2 separate regions of the Homo sapiens genome follow, and region 1 is linked to region 2. Evidence: promoter capture Hi-C in human tissues and cell types (Jung and others, 2019). All regions are on one chromosome and are shown on one strand. Each heading gives the region's core, a stretch centred on a gene start or on the middle of the fragment in contact. The rest is flanking DNA. Distances are from core to core; before and after follow the strand shown.

Evidence for each region. The method cuts DNA at HindIII sites, captures the fragments that hold promoters and counts their contacts. A contact is called where the count stands out against the background at its distance.
Region 1: a contact is called between a fragment that was not itself captured here and the fragment with the promoter of UBALD2 in region 2, in 1 of the 25 tissues and cell types used here (hippocampus).

What each region holds. Positions count from the first base shown.
Region 1 is chr17:77,311,856-77,318,876 of GRCh38, reverse strand. The region is part of intron 2 of SEPTIN9 (septin 9); the gene reads right to left. Among named protein-coding and RNA genes, the nearest start is that of SEPTIN9-DT, 33 kb to the right of the region's middle. RefSeq lists enhancers at 1,181-2,016, 3,689-4,524. The HindIII fragment of the contact is 3,030 bases long and covers 597-3,626 here.
Region 2 is chr17:76,260,199-76,267,072 of GRCh38, reverse strand. UBALD2 (UBA like domain containing 2) reads right to left here and starts at 1,725. Exons shown (of 3, transcript NM_182565.4): 1 at 1,448-1,725; 2 at 1,104-1,166. The coding sequence starts at 1,567. LOC105371896 (a long non-coding RNA gene) reads left to right here and starts at 1,992. Exons shown (of 6, transcript XR_007065913.1): 1 at 1,992-4,470; 2 at 5,809-5,951; 3 at 6,068-6,619. RefSeq lists enhancers at 913-1,012, 2,273-2,322, 3,891-3,980 and silencers at 1,183-1,322, 1,623-1,922, 4,791-5,085. The HindIII fragment of the contact is 4,971 bases long and covers 144-5,114 here.

The DNA.
Region 1 (7,021 bases), core at 862-3,361, 1.1 Mb before region 2:
CCTCTGAGTTTACAATCCCTGCCCCACAGAGCCAGGTGAGTTACCTGTGACCAGGTGAGGCCCATGCACAGCCCTCGGCTAGATGACAGAGCCAAAGGCCCTGAAGTGCCACTTCAGGCCACAGTCCCGTCCGCTCTCTGCCTGGGATAGGACCCCAAATGCAATCTCCTTGGCAGAAAGGACATCTTCCTGGGGGGTGGGGAGGACCATTCCCAGCCTTCTGGGAGACATCAAGCAACCACCTCCTCCCAAAGAGCCTGGAGGACAGCCCCACAGGCAGCCAGACAGTGAGGGAGGTGGGGACAGCATCTCAGCCGAGGTGGGAGGCTGGGGAGGAAGGGAGGGATCATAGTCACGAGAGAAGGCTGAATAATGGCCCCAGGGATAGCATGTCCTAATCCCTAGACCTGCAAATGGGACCTTGTTTGGAACAAGAGTTTTTGCATCTGTGATTCAGTTGCAGATCTTGCTGTGGCGAGAGCACCCTGGATGGTCTAGGTGGTCCCTAAAGGCAGTCTCGGTGCTCATACAAGACGGGGGCAGAGGGAGATTTGACACAGACAGGGATGGCCAAGTGGAGATGGGGCCCGGAGAGATCTGTAGATGCTGGTGTTGAAGGTAAGGGCCATGCAGCCACAAGCCAAGGGACACCCACAGCCACCAGAGGCTCAAAGGGGCAGGCGATGAAGGCAGTGGCCCCCAACCTTTTTGGCACCTGGGATCGGTTTCAGGGAAGACAATTTTTCCACAGACCAGGGAGTGGGGAGATGGTTTTGAGATGATTCAAGTGTATTATATTTATTATTTTATTTTATTTTATTTTATTGAGACAGAGTCTCGCTCTGCCACCCAGGCTGGAGTACAGTGGCACTATCTCAGTTCACTGCAACCTCCGCCACCTGGGTTCAAGCAATTCTTCTGCCTCAGCCTCCCAAGAAGCTGGGACTACAGACGCCTGCCACCGTGTCCGGCTAATTTTTGTATTTTTAGTAGAAACGGGGTTTCACCATATTGGCCAGGCTGATCTTGAACTCCTGACCTCGTGATCCGCCAGCCTTGGCCTCCCAAAGTGCTGGGATTACAGGCATAAGCCACTGTGCCTGGCCTTTATTTTTTATTTTTTGAGACAGAGTTTCACTCTGGGATTACAGGTGTGAGCCACTGCACCCGGCCACAAGCACGTTGTATTGATTGTGCACTTTATTTCTATTATTATTATAATATATAATGAGATAATTATACAACTCACCATAATGTAGAATCAGTTGGAGCCCTGAGCTTATTTTCCTGCAACCAGACGGTCCCATCTGGTGGTGATGGGAGACGGTGACAGATCATCAGGCATCAGATTCTCATAAGAAGCACGCAACCTAGATCCCTCACATGTGCCGTTCACAATACGGTTCACTCTCCTATAAGAATCCAATGCCATGGCTGATCAGACAGGAGGCAGAGCTTGGGCAGTAATGCGAGCAATGGGGAGTGACTGTAAATACAGATGAAGCTTCGCTCGCTTGCCAGTCACTCACCTCCTGCTGTGCAGGCCAGTTCCTAATAGGACACACGGGGCTGGGAACCCCTGCCCTAGAGCCTCCAGAGGGCTATGCCCAGTGGACACCCTGATTTCAGCCTGGTGACCCTGATCTCGGATGTGTGGCCTGCAGAGCTGTGAGAGGATGGCTGGGCGTTGTTGTGACCCAGCCAGCTTGTGGCCACTCGTTACAGCAGCTGCAGGAAACTGATGCAGCGCCACAGACGGAGCCAGGGCTCAGCTCACTGGAGTTGCTTTCTGTTATTCTATTTCTTCCTAAAACATTGTGTTAAGCCAACCACTAACAACCACTGACTCCGATGGGCAGGAATCGCAGAGGTTTCTTGGTTTGTTTCTTTAATCCCTTTTCCAATTTTGAAATAATATTCCTTGTTGGTTTTTCTGATTATAAATGTAATATCTTTCTTTGTATTGAGTTTAGAAACAAGAGAAAAAGTAAAAAGCAGAAACCCCAGCTGGGCAAGGTGGCACGTGCCTGTAATCTCAGCACTTTGGGAGGCTGCGGCGGAAGGATTGCTTGAAGCCAGGAGTTCGAGGCTGCTGTGAGCTATAATTGCACTACTGCACCCTGGCTGGGTAAAAAGAGTGAGACCCTGTCTCAAATTAAAAAAAAAAAAAAAGAAGAGGAAGAAAACCCATTAACCTCACTCGAGACTCTCCATACGAACTCCTGCTGTGGGGCAGGGAAGCCCAGGAAGGCCCCACGAGGCTCTGACCCAGCCTGGCTGGCGGTGGGAACTTGGGAACAGCCCCGAGTGAGGGGCCGGGCTATGACTGAGTTCATTCACCCAGCCACCTCCTGCACGCTGTGCACACTATGGGTTTGACGGCCAGGGCTGGAGCACTTGCTGAGCACAGCCTTGACCCTCAGTTTTACCCAGCATGGTTTGGCCTGAGGTCCATCTCCCCTCCGTGCCTGAAAATCCAAACATTTTGGCCCAGGCGGGGGATCACTTGAAATGGAAAACCTGGCAGCACCGATTGGCTCTGAAGAGGCAGGAGTTAGTCATGAGCCGGCTGGGAGGCGAGTGCAGAGGTGGTGAGGTAAGGCCAGCAGAGGGTGGGGGAGGCGAGGGCCAACCTCTCACCGCGCATGGTGTAAGCACTAAGGGGGCACTTCACCAGGCCAGTGCAGACCCAGGCCCCTGCGGTGGATCCCCCGCGGTCCCTCCCTCCAGAGGAACACTGAAGAGGTTTCTGTGGTCCTGTCTTAGATTCAGAGGCACATTTGCATACTAAACGCACTGAGTAATCCTACAGTGAGGGAGCCGGGCTTGGTTTAACCCACCTTTTCCCAAATTGGACCAAAGGTTGCTGTCCCAGGAAGGCAGGGCCCTCAGGCCCACGGCTTTGGGAAACTCTGGTTGTGCCAGCCTATGAGCCCAGCTCCCAGCCACCCCAGCCTGCCCACACCCTGGAGTGGGCACTGTTACCCAAAAGCCCCTTCCAGACAGTTCTCAGGGCGGCATCCCTGTCCTTCACCCCCCATAGACCCCTGGCCACTTTTCTGCGACATCAGCATCACTGGTTCACAGCTCCTCTTAATTGCAAAGTGGGGCTCAGCGGCACAGGCTGGGCCTGGCAGGGCGGGAAGGAAGAGCGAAGGCCACTTTGTCTCCAATAGCACTGGCCGGGCTCTGGAAAGGCCGGAACCCACAGACAGGAAGGAAGTGTCACACTCACTCAACCTGCTTTGCGTCAGCCAGGGGGCATCTTGTAGAAAGAAGTTAGGTGGTCGTGGCCGGGTGCAGTGGCTCATGCCTGTAATCCCAGCACTTTGGGAGGCCGAGGCAGGTGGATCACAAGGTCAGGGGTTCCAGACCAGCCTGACCAACATGGTGAAACCCCGTCTCTACTAAAAATACAAAAATTAGCTGGGCATGGTGGCGCATGCCTGTAATCCCAGCTATTCAGAAGGCTGAGGCAGGAGAATTGCTTGAACCTGGGAGGTGGAGGTTGCAGTGAGCCTAGATCACGCCACTGCACTCCAGCCTGGGCGACAGCGCGAGATTCCATCTCAAAAAAAAAAAAAAGAAGTTAGGTGGTCATTCTTCAGTCTCTGGCTTGGCCTAGGAACTGCTTCTTTTTCAAGATGCTATCAAATGCCTCCTCCATTAGGAAGCCTTCCCTGGTTGCCCCCTCCACTCCTGTCCTTGCCCCAGAACACGGCCCGGCCCTCACGGACAATCCTGACATCAGAGCCTAATAGAGATTTTCCTCTTCATGGAAATTCATACTCCAAACTGAATATGTGTGCAGGATAAGCCCCTGTTCCCATGTGAAACAAAAGTGAAAGGTGCGGATCACCTGCCTTTCCCCACCCCTTCTCACAACAATCTGGGCTCCACAGGGGCCCAGTAGGAGCCAGGTCCAGTTCAGCCGCCCCAGGTGCACCATCCTGGGCACCAGCGCCTCTGTCCCCTTCCACGAAGCACAGCTTCATCCCCTGGTACCCAGTGGGGAGGGGACACATACCAGGCATTCCCCAGGGTGGACTGTGCTCCCCACACCAGGCCAGGAGGCCCTGGGGCTGGTCCAGCCATCCAGAAAAGGGAGCAGGCGGTCCAGGTGACACTGATGTGGGCAGCAGGGGCCTTCGGGAAAGGGTCTTCGTAGGATCGGCCCCACCTTGCTCCAGGAGTACACACTGGGGAAGGGTGCTGCGCGGAGGTGGAGAGAACGCATCTTTGGCTGAAAGCATGCTTTCTGATGCTCTGGGCTCGGATTTGCTGCCATCTTCCATGTCCCCTCACCTAACACACGTTCCAGTAAATCCTCCATGCTGATGAGCGCCAAGCTATAGAGGACGCACAACCTCTCGCTTTAAAAAGTGACTTTTCCTGCTGGGTGTGGTGGCTCACACCTGTAATTCCAACACTTTGGGAGGCCAAAGTGGGAGGATCACTTGAGGCCAAGAGTTCAAGACCAGCCTGGGCAACATAGAGAAATCCCATCTCTACAAAAAAAAAAAAAAAAAAAAAAAGTCCAGGCACAGTGGCTCATGCCTGTAATCCCAGCTACTTGGGAGGCTGAGGCAGGAGAATCACTTGAACCTGGGAGGCAGAGATTGCAGTGAGCCAAGATCATGCCACTGCACTCCAGCCTGGGCAACAGAGCAAGACTCCACCTCAAAAAAAAAAAAAATTTTTTTTTTTGAAACAGGGCCTTACTCCCTTTGCCCAGGCTGGAGGACAGTGACGTGATCACAACTCACTGCAGCCTCAGCTTCCCGGGTAGCTGGAACTACAGGGCTGTACCACCACGCCCAGCTAACTTTTTGTATTTTTAGTCAAGACGGGGTCTCGTCATGTTGCCCAGGCTGGTCTGGAGCACCTGAGCTCAAGTGATCCTCCCACCTCGGCTCCAAAAGTACTGGGATTACAGGCATGGGTCACCATGCCTAGCCTGAAAACATTTCTTTTAAGAATTAGCCAGTCATGGTGGCGCACAACTGTAGTCCCAGCTACTTAGGAGGCTAAGGCAGGAGGATCCCTTGAGCCTGGCAGGTTGAGGCTGCAGTGAGCTATAATTGTGCCACTGCACTCCAGCCTGGGGGACAGAGAAAGACCCTGCCTAGAAAGAAAAAAGAAAAAAAAAAGACTTTTCCATTCATTTCCTGCTCATCCTCAGACTCAACCACTGAAGTTTGCTTCCCTGAATTAAAAATGAAGGAGCTCCGTCCTGGACTCCCTCCTGCTGACCCTGCTACTGTACCTGCCAGCAGAGCCAGCCAAGACCCTCCAGGCTGGCCCCAGCCTGGCCCGCCTACAGCCTCCCAAGCAAGACGGATTCCCAGGCTGAGGCCAGCTGCATTCCTCTCTGGAATCTTTCTCCACTTTTTATTGTGCCTCAGACTTTGGCTGTTCCTAAATAAATACAATCCAGCTATCTCTGCCCTTGGGGCCGCTGCAGGGTTTACTGGTGCAAACCGCCTGGGCAGGCCTGTTGCTTTAGGAGTCCTTCCAGGTCAGCGTGGAAGGAAACCAAGACAACGGGGAGAAGCAGCCCGGTTGGGCCCAATTCCACTCTCACATGCTCGTGCTCAGCCAACCATCTGGGCTGTAGCCTGACAGGAGCTGGAGCTGGCGCTCCATTCCTAGAGGGGGCCCCCGACTGCCCCTGCAGAGCGAGGGAGGTCTGGGGGTGCAGAGGCCAAGGGCCCTTGCAGAGTTTGCCCCAGGTCCCCTGAGTTTAAGCTTCTCTGCAGCCAACGGAAGACTCCCCCGAGAGCGGGTGTCTTTCATCCTGCTTGCTCAGTAGGTGCCCAGTAACCGTTCACTGGATAAACAATGAATTTGTGGATCCAACGTGAAGATGATCTAAACCAGCGCCCCCCCATAGAACTCTCCGCAATGATGTCAATGTTCTGTATCTGCCGTAGTCAATATGGCAGCCACATGTGGCAGTGAACGCTTGCAATGTGGAAGGGCTACCAAGGCAAAGAGTTTCGCATTTATGTTATAATTTAAACTTAAATAGTCACAAATGCCTAGCGTGTGCCCCGTTATACAGACCCTTTTTGTCACCTTCTTCTCCTCCCTAGAGACATTGCATTCGCCATCAATTTCTTACCCGGGAGGCAAACGGAGAAATGCTACTCTTTAGCCAACGCAAAAGAAGGCCAATATTTGCATTTTAAGCTAGTTTTTTGGGCAATTCTCCCAAGCATCTCCTATCAAGGTCAGTCCAGCAATATTTCCTGACTGCCTGCCACGCACCAGGAAAGCATCCCGCCGTGGCTCTGGTCCGAGGCTATGGAGGACACAGAAATAACCAAGGCCAAGCTGATAGAAGGGGTGTGACAAGATGGCCCAAAGTCACTGAGTCAGCTAGGAGGTCCAGGAGCATGGAAGCCCTGCTTTCCAGAGGACAAGTGGCAACCCATCCAGGGGGGGCCCGAGCACTCAGAGCCAGGAGCGCAGAAGCAGGGGGCTCCAGGCTGGAAAGCGGTATCAGGGCCAGGCTGGGCGGCAGCACGAATCCACCCTCGAGGCTTTGGGGGCGGAAACTAAGGGCTCTATGAGTAAGAAGACCCGGCCCAGGTCTAATGGAAATGATCGGGTGGAGGGATCCTATCACCCGGTCCCCAGCACACAGGGAGGGAAGTGGTAATCGTCCTCTAAATGTTGGCCGTGGAGGGGAAGGAGCCACAGCAGGGCAGGGGTGGGGAGGATGGCACCTGCTGGTCCAAGGAGGGATGATGGAGGCCCAACCAAGACATGACCGTGACCGGGGCAGCCTGTCCAAGGGTCAGTATGCAGAGGGCGAGTTGATGAGATCTTGGCAGCCTGTTGAGACCTGGGGGTGCTGGGGAGGCAGAGGTCAAGGTCAACTCTGAGATTTCCTGCTTGCAAACCTGGGTGGGTGGCAAGGCTGATATCAGAGAAATAGAGGAAGAGTGGGTAGCTATGGGTGAGAGAGGAAGTAATGAACTAGGGGTGCCTGCAAGAGCCCAGGGGCAAGGTCCTC
Region 2 (6,874 bases), core at 476-2,975:
GGGTTTCTAAGAGCCCTGTGGCCAGCACCATGCTCCCATCATACTCAAATGCCATTTTGGCTTGATTTATATACAGCATCAGCCATTCTGAGAAAAACTAGCTAACAAGGTCAAGACAGACCCCTCTACTTGTCCTCTGTGACTAGATGAAAACAGAGAGCCAAAGGCAAGGGCACCAAGTGTTAAAAATCCCAAAAATGCACCTAGAGTCCACAACAGCTCTCCTGGGGAACAATGTTTTAAGATCCCTATCGCTGAGCCCTGCCCCTCCTCCCCCAGCAGGGCTAATAGGTAACTAGGGGGGTAGGGTACAGGAGAGATGTCCTGGGCCTCAAGAAAGCAGAGTACCCCATGGCCAGGAGGGCAAAAGCTTGGGCCTGGGCTAGAATGAAAAAGAAAGCAAATCCAGACCCCGGACCACTTCTCTGTGTGCTGGGCTGGTGGAGCTCAACACAGAGATTAAAGACACATTCCTGGCCTTATCTTGGGTCAAAATCTGTGTGTCCTCCTGGCTTGGGGGATGTATGTCCTTCCAACTTCCCAGTCCCCTTGGGCTTCGGAAGGTTGAACAGATCTTTGTGGGTAGAGCCCGGCTTCCTGAGCCAGGGTGGATTCATGCCTTTCCTGTTCCCTGTAGCGCTGGGTGTGTGTGTGTGTGGAGGGGGAGGGGGGAAACCACTCAACAGCACGAGGGGGTCCCCATAAACACAAGCACCCCCATCGCCCTCCCTGGGCCCTTCGCGCGGGCTTCCCAGTGCCCCAGACGTCCGGGCATCACCCTCTCCCCCTCCCCATCCCCTGGCTCTGGGGTCCCCCAGCTCCTGAGCCCCTCGCCAGGCCCCCGGCCCTCTCCCCCTCCCCCCAACTTTGGCGCCGCTTCCCCCCAGGGACCAGTGCCGGGCACCAGTCCCGAGGCCAAGCAGCAGCAGCCCGGGAGGCGGGCCTCAAAGTTGGAGGCGCCAGCGCCGGCCCGGGAGCCGCTCTTTCCTGGAAGACATTTTGGCTCTTTGTTTACATTCGCGGCGCGGCGCTCCCCGGCAACATGGCTGTCACCGCCGCGCTGACAGCGGCCCCGGCCCGCGCCCCTGCCCGCCGCCGCTTACCATCTGGTGGTGGTGGTGGCTGTTGGGAATGTTGGTTTCTTGGAAGAACGTGCTCAGCGCGGTCTGCGGACAAACAGGGCAGTGACACGGCGGGCCAGGCGGAGTCAGGAAACGCAGCGGCTGGGCCCCCCACCGGCTCTCCCCGCCTCCGCGCCCGGCCCGCGGCCCCCGACCCTCGGCTGCCCCACGTGCAGAGGGGAGCCGGTCCCGGCCCCGGTCCCGCGTAAGACCCGCTCGCGGGCGCCGATCGCCTTCCGGGCCGACAACAGGAGCGCTCCCCGCCCCCGCCGCCGCCCGGCGTCCCCGACCCCCGCGGCCCGGCCCCGCGGCGGCCAGGCTCGCACCTCGAACTGCCAGTGGGCCGCCTGCAGCAACTGCTTCGCCTGGTCGGCCGCGCAGCCCGCGGCCAGCACGAACTGGTTGATCATGACCTGGTGCCGCAGCTCGTCCATGTTCACCGACATGGCGCGGCGCGGCGCGGGGCCCGGCGTCTCCGGCCGGACGCAGACGCGGGGCTGCGCGGGCGCGGGAGGCCGGCCGCCCGGGGCTCCGGGGCTCGCGCTCACCGCTGCTGCCGCCGCTCCGCCGCCCGCTCCGCCGCCGCCCGCCCGGCGAATGTTGTGGTTCGACTCCCGCGGCCCGGCCGACACCACAAACAACAGCGCGGGGCGGGGCTGGGCCGGCCCAACGTTCGGGGACTGCCGCTGATTGGCCGGGGCGCCGCTCCGCCAGCGCCCGGCTCCCGTAAGGACGTTCGATTCGAATCCTGCGGCCTGTGGGGCCCTCACTGTTTCTCTTTTCGCCCGGCCGCGCCCATTGGCGGAGCTCGGCGCCGTGGGGCTCCCCAGCATTGGCCGGCCGCTGTGTTTTGGCTCATCCGGCCTCGTGGTTGGTCACGGCCGGGCGTTCGGGGCGGGGCCGCGCACTCTGATTGGCCTCCGGTGGTCCTGTTTGAACTCAACTTGAAAACCCGGAGTGCCTGCTGATTGGCCGAGGGCCCTCTGTTTGCTGTTGTAGGCTTGGGGGTGGTGCGGCCAAGTTCATTCATTACTTCATTGAAACAGAACATGCTCAGCTGGAAAAGCAAGACAGAGTGGCTTTGACTCATTTCCTCTGAAAGATGTGGTCATCTCGAGAAACAGAATGATCAAAATAGAAAACAGAGCCTTTGCAGCTGCTCAAGTCTCAAAAGCATGTAATTTTTAAAAATAACTTTCAAGCAGTCCAATTTAAAAAAATCTTTTATTGAAATATAACGTACATTAGGAAAGTGCGATGTCGCAGGTACAGCTTCCAGACTTTTCACCAAGTGAACACCCAGATCAATTAACAGAACGTTACTTGCACCCTAGGAACCCGCGTCCTGCCCTCTTCTAATCACTACCCACCGCAAGGATCGAGCAGTATTTTCTCAGTTTTTAGACCAAAGACTTTGCTCTCTGAAGATGGAAGCCAAGATTTATGTACAATAAATACGATATGCAAGGAAATATGCAAGGAAAAAAGTGAGACTTTCTCAGTGGCCAAAATGCCAAGTCAAGAATTTTTTCTTGTTAAATCGGTTGACCTAACTGAAGCTTTAATTTTCTTTTTTTTTTTTTCTCTTGCTTGTCACGAAAGCTAAGATGAAGCTTTAATTTCTACCATCTTTTAAAAAAACAACGGGTGGCAGTAGGGGTGGAGTCTGGGGTTGGGATGGCTTACACCTATAATCCCAGCACTTTGGGAGGCCGAGACAGGAGGATAACTTGAGGCCGGGAGTTCAACACCAGCTTGGGCAACATAGCACAGACTCCATCTCTACCAAATAAAAACAAACAATAACAAACAGTGAGTGTTTCTACAGAGATACTGTTTCTCAGTGGTAGCCCTTTAAAGTCCAAAATTTGGTGGTGGTGGTTGTTAGATAGGGCTAGAGTGACATGATCATGGCTCACTGTAACTTCGAGCGATCCTCTTGCCTCAGCCTCTCGAGTAGCTGGGACTACAGGCACACACCACCATGCCTGACTAATTTTTGAATTTTTGGTAGAGATGAGATCTCACTATTGTTGCCCAGGCTGGTCTTGAACTCCTGGACTAAAGTGATCCTCCTGCCTCAGCCTCCCAAAGCACAGGGATTACAGGTGTGAGCCACCATGCCTGGCCCCAAATTTGTTTGTATGTGCTGAGCTTCCATCTTCTGGATTAGAGTTTGATCTTCAGGGCTGTGTTTGAGAATTGTGGGGGTAGGAAAAGAACTAGGAGTTTAAGCAGATTGGGGAAGGGGCAGAAGAGATTGGGAAGATAAATATTGTTAGGGATTCACTGTTAAGAGTTTCTGTTTCAGGAGAACTTTGTGAGTTTTTTATCTGAACTACTAATTACAGAGTGTATTTTAACCAGCTAAAGGTCTGCAGAACAGAAGGAGGCTTATAATAAGAAAGCACGTCGTGGTTCTATCTTGACTTTGCCTAAATTGGATTTAACTCCCTATCTAAGAAAACTTGACAGTATGTATTTTTAAAGTTTACAAACAAGAAGAAGATTACAATTAATGTTAATGTTTCTGTACTGATGAAAAACAAATTCAGGTACTATCATGAGCTCATTCCATTTGGTTCGTTTTTTGTTTATTTGTTTGTTTTGAAGGAGTAGGAGTCAGCTTTTTCCTGGGAATGGCCCTGAAGTACACGTGGGCTGGGACCTGGCGTGTGGCTGGAGACTCCAGTATAGCTTGCAGCCTTCCCGTCCAGTAATTGCAAGGTGAAAACAAAAGTGAGCAGCTGGCAGCATACACTGCCAGGGAGCTCAGGCCGCAAGCAGCCCAGAAGAAGGAAGTACTGTCACTGTGGGGCTCCAGGTTTTCATAAGTACATGCGGGTGTCAAACATGCCAGGGCCGTGAGTAGGAGGGTCTACCCTGGGGAGAGACATTTCTGGCTGTAGTGGAATGTCCCCTATGAGCCCGTAGGTCTTAATTCAGAAGTAAGTTCCCAAGGAAAGCAAGAGTCCAAAGTTGCCAAACCTGTTATTTCCTGGAAATCAAGGCAGTTTATCCAGTTTATGTAATGTTTAACAATTGCAGGGCCCAGCTGTGGGCACCTGGGCGGGGCATGGAGGGCAAGGCCCCCAAGCCAGAGAGACTCAGGTACTAGTTATCTTCTGTGGGCCTAAGGTCACTCAGGAAGAAGGAAGGAGAGCAACAGAGCCCGTGATTTGTGGTCCTGAGACATGGAAGTGCTTAATCCATATTTTGGCTTCTGAGAATCCGGTTGGAGATGAGTAGCTGGGAAACTTAGGACTGTCCCACTCCTGGGAGAATGAATGAGGTCATGTTTGTAGAGGGCTTTGAGCTGATGGGAGGAAAGCAACTTCCTAAATGCAAGGTATTATTAACTGAAGGTACTATTATTTTAATCTGAGAGGACAATGTATGGTAGGTAAAATAGAGCAACTTTGGGAGGCCGAGGCGGGTGGATCACGAGGTCAGGAGATCGAGACCATCCTGGCTAACATGGTGAAACCCTGTCTCTGCTAAAAATACAAAAAATTAGCCAGGCATGGTGGCAGGCGCCTGCAGTCCCAGCTACTCGGGATGCTGAGGCAGGAGGATGGCATGAACCTGGGAGGCAGAGCTTGCAGTGAGCCGATTTTGTGCCACTGCACTCCAGCCTGGGTGACACAGCGAGACTCCATCTCAAAAAAAAAAAAAGGCTTGAATCACAAATAAAACATGGTATCCTCAGAAAGAAAATCCTTGTTACATCAATGGTCTGGGCTCCAGGACAAGCGGTGAGGCAGCAACCAAGAAGAGAAACAATCTTAGCAGTATTTCCTCCGTTCCCGGATGACAAGGTTGTTGTGAATGCAAGTCATTGAATGAGTCCTGAAACAGGCACACAATAGCCGGACCATAACAAGCAGCTGCCAGTTACCAAGCACTTCCTGTGAGCCAGGCAGCTCTCTAAGACTTGAATGTCTATTAACTCATTTCAATCCTCCCCCAAATCCAGAATCTCATTTCACAGATGGGGCTGCTGAGGGACAGTGGAGGGGAAGAGTGTCCAGCGGTGGAGCGAGGCAGTGGTTAGCTCACCCATGCTACCTCCCTTCCCGCTGCAGCTGTCACTTCCGTGGGACTCTCAAAGGGCCCCTTCCCCAAAAGATCTATAGAGGGCACTAAGAGTTCCACTGGAGATGCTTGAAATGAGTGAACCCTCCCCGCCTCTGTGGGGATGGGGAGAAAAGGACACCAGCTCTCTTGGGTAATGGGTTTGGGGGAAGGGTAGAGAACTGGCATTCCCAACCTCCATCTCTGCAGTGCGTTAAATTCTTGTTCTGGCCGGGCGCAGTGGCTGACACCCGTAATCCTAGCACTTTGGGAAGTCGAGGCGGGCGGATCACTTGAGGTCGGGAGTTCAAGACCAGCCTGGCCTATATGGTGAAACCACCGTCTCTACTAAAAAAAAAAAAAAATACAAAAATTAGCCAGGCGTGGTGGTGCGTGCCTGTAGTCTGTAATCCCAGCTACTCGGGAGGCTGAGGCACGAGAATTGCTTGAACCCCGTAGGTGGAGGTTGCAGTGGGCCGATATCGTGCCACTGCGCTCCAGCCTGGGCGACAGAGTGAGACTCTGTCTCAAAAATAATGACAATAAAAAATAAAAATAAATTTTTGTTCCTTTCTTCCTCCTTTCCACCTCTTATTTCCCTAAATCCAAACAGATCCAACAAAGCTGAAAGATGGAATCTGAGGGCTCTCAGAACTCCCAATAGGCCCAAGGCTCAGAGAGGAAACAAAATCCACTCAAGGTCATGAACACTCGCTTTTCCCTGCTGACTGATGGTAGCACTGGGATTCGATTCAGGTTTGGTTGATCCAAAAGCTCATTTCCTTCCTCCCTCCCTTCCTTTCCTTTCCTTTCTTCCTTTCTTTTTTCCATCCTCTAATTTTTATTTCTTGCTTCCCTATTGTTTCTTCAAGATGCCAGGACAAAAGGACAAGGTGGCCAAGAGAAGTAGAAAGGTGTTGAGAGGAGAAGGAGAATGGGAAAGGGCCAATAAGAAGACAATGAAAACAAGCAGCGCCAAGGCAGCTGGGCCAGGCTGGACTCACACACTCCCTGAAGGCTCGGGTCCAGGAGGCACTGGTGGTGCGATGGTTTTCTTCTCCTTTTGAGGATTTCCAACGCTATTGCTAGCCTTTGTTTGTTTAACATAACCTATTTTTTGCTGCTATTTTTCCTTGCAAATTTATGCTTTGTTTTTCTTTTTTTGGAGACAACTTCTCGCTCTATCACCCAGGCTGGAGTGCAGTGGTACGACTTCGGCTACTACAACCTCTGCCTCCTGGGTTCAAGCGATTCTCGTGCCTCAGCCTCCCTAGTAGCTGGAACTACAGGCATGCGCTGCCACACCCGGCTAATTTTTGTATTTTCAGTAGAGACAAGGTTTTGCCATGTTTTCCAGGCTGGTCTCGAACTACCTGCCTCAAGCGATCTGACCGCCTCGGCTTCTGAAAGTGCTGGGATTACAGGTATGAGCCACCATGCCCAGCCAGTTTGTTTGTTTTTTTTGAGACACGGTCTTGCTCTGTTGCACAGGCTAGAGTGTAGTAGCTCACTGCAGCAACCCTCAACTCCCCTGGGCTCAAGCAATCCTCCAGCCCAGCCCCCTAAGAAGCTAGGACTACAAGCACACAACACTACAACTGGCTGATTTTTATTTTTATTTTTTTTGCCCAGGCTGGTCTTGAACTCCTGGCCTCAAGCGATCCTCTCACCTTGACCTT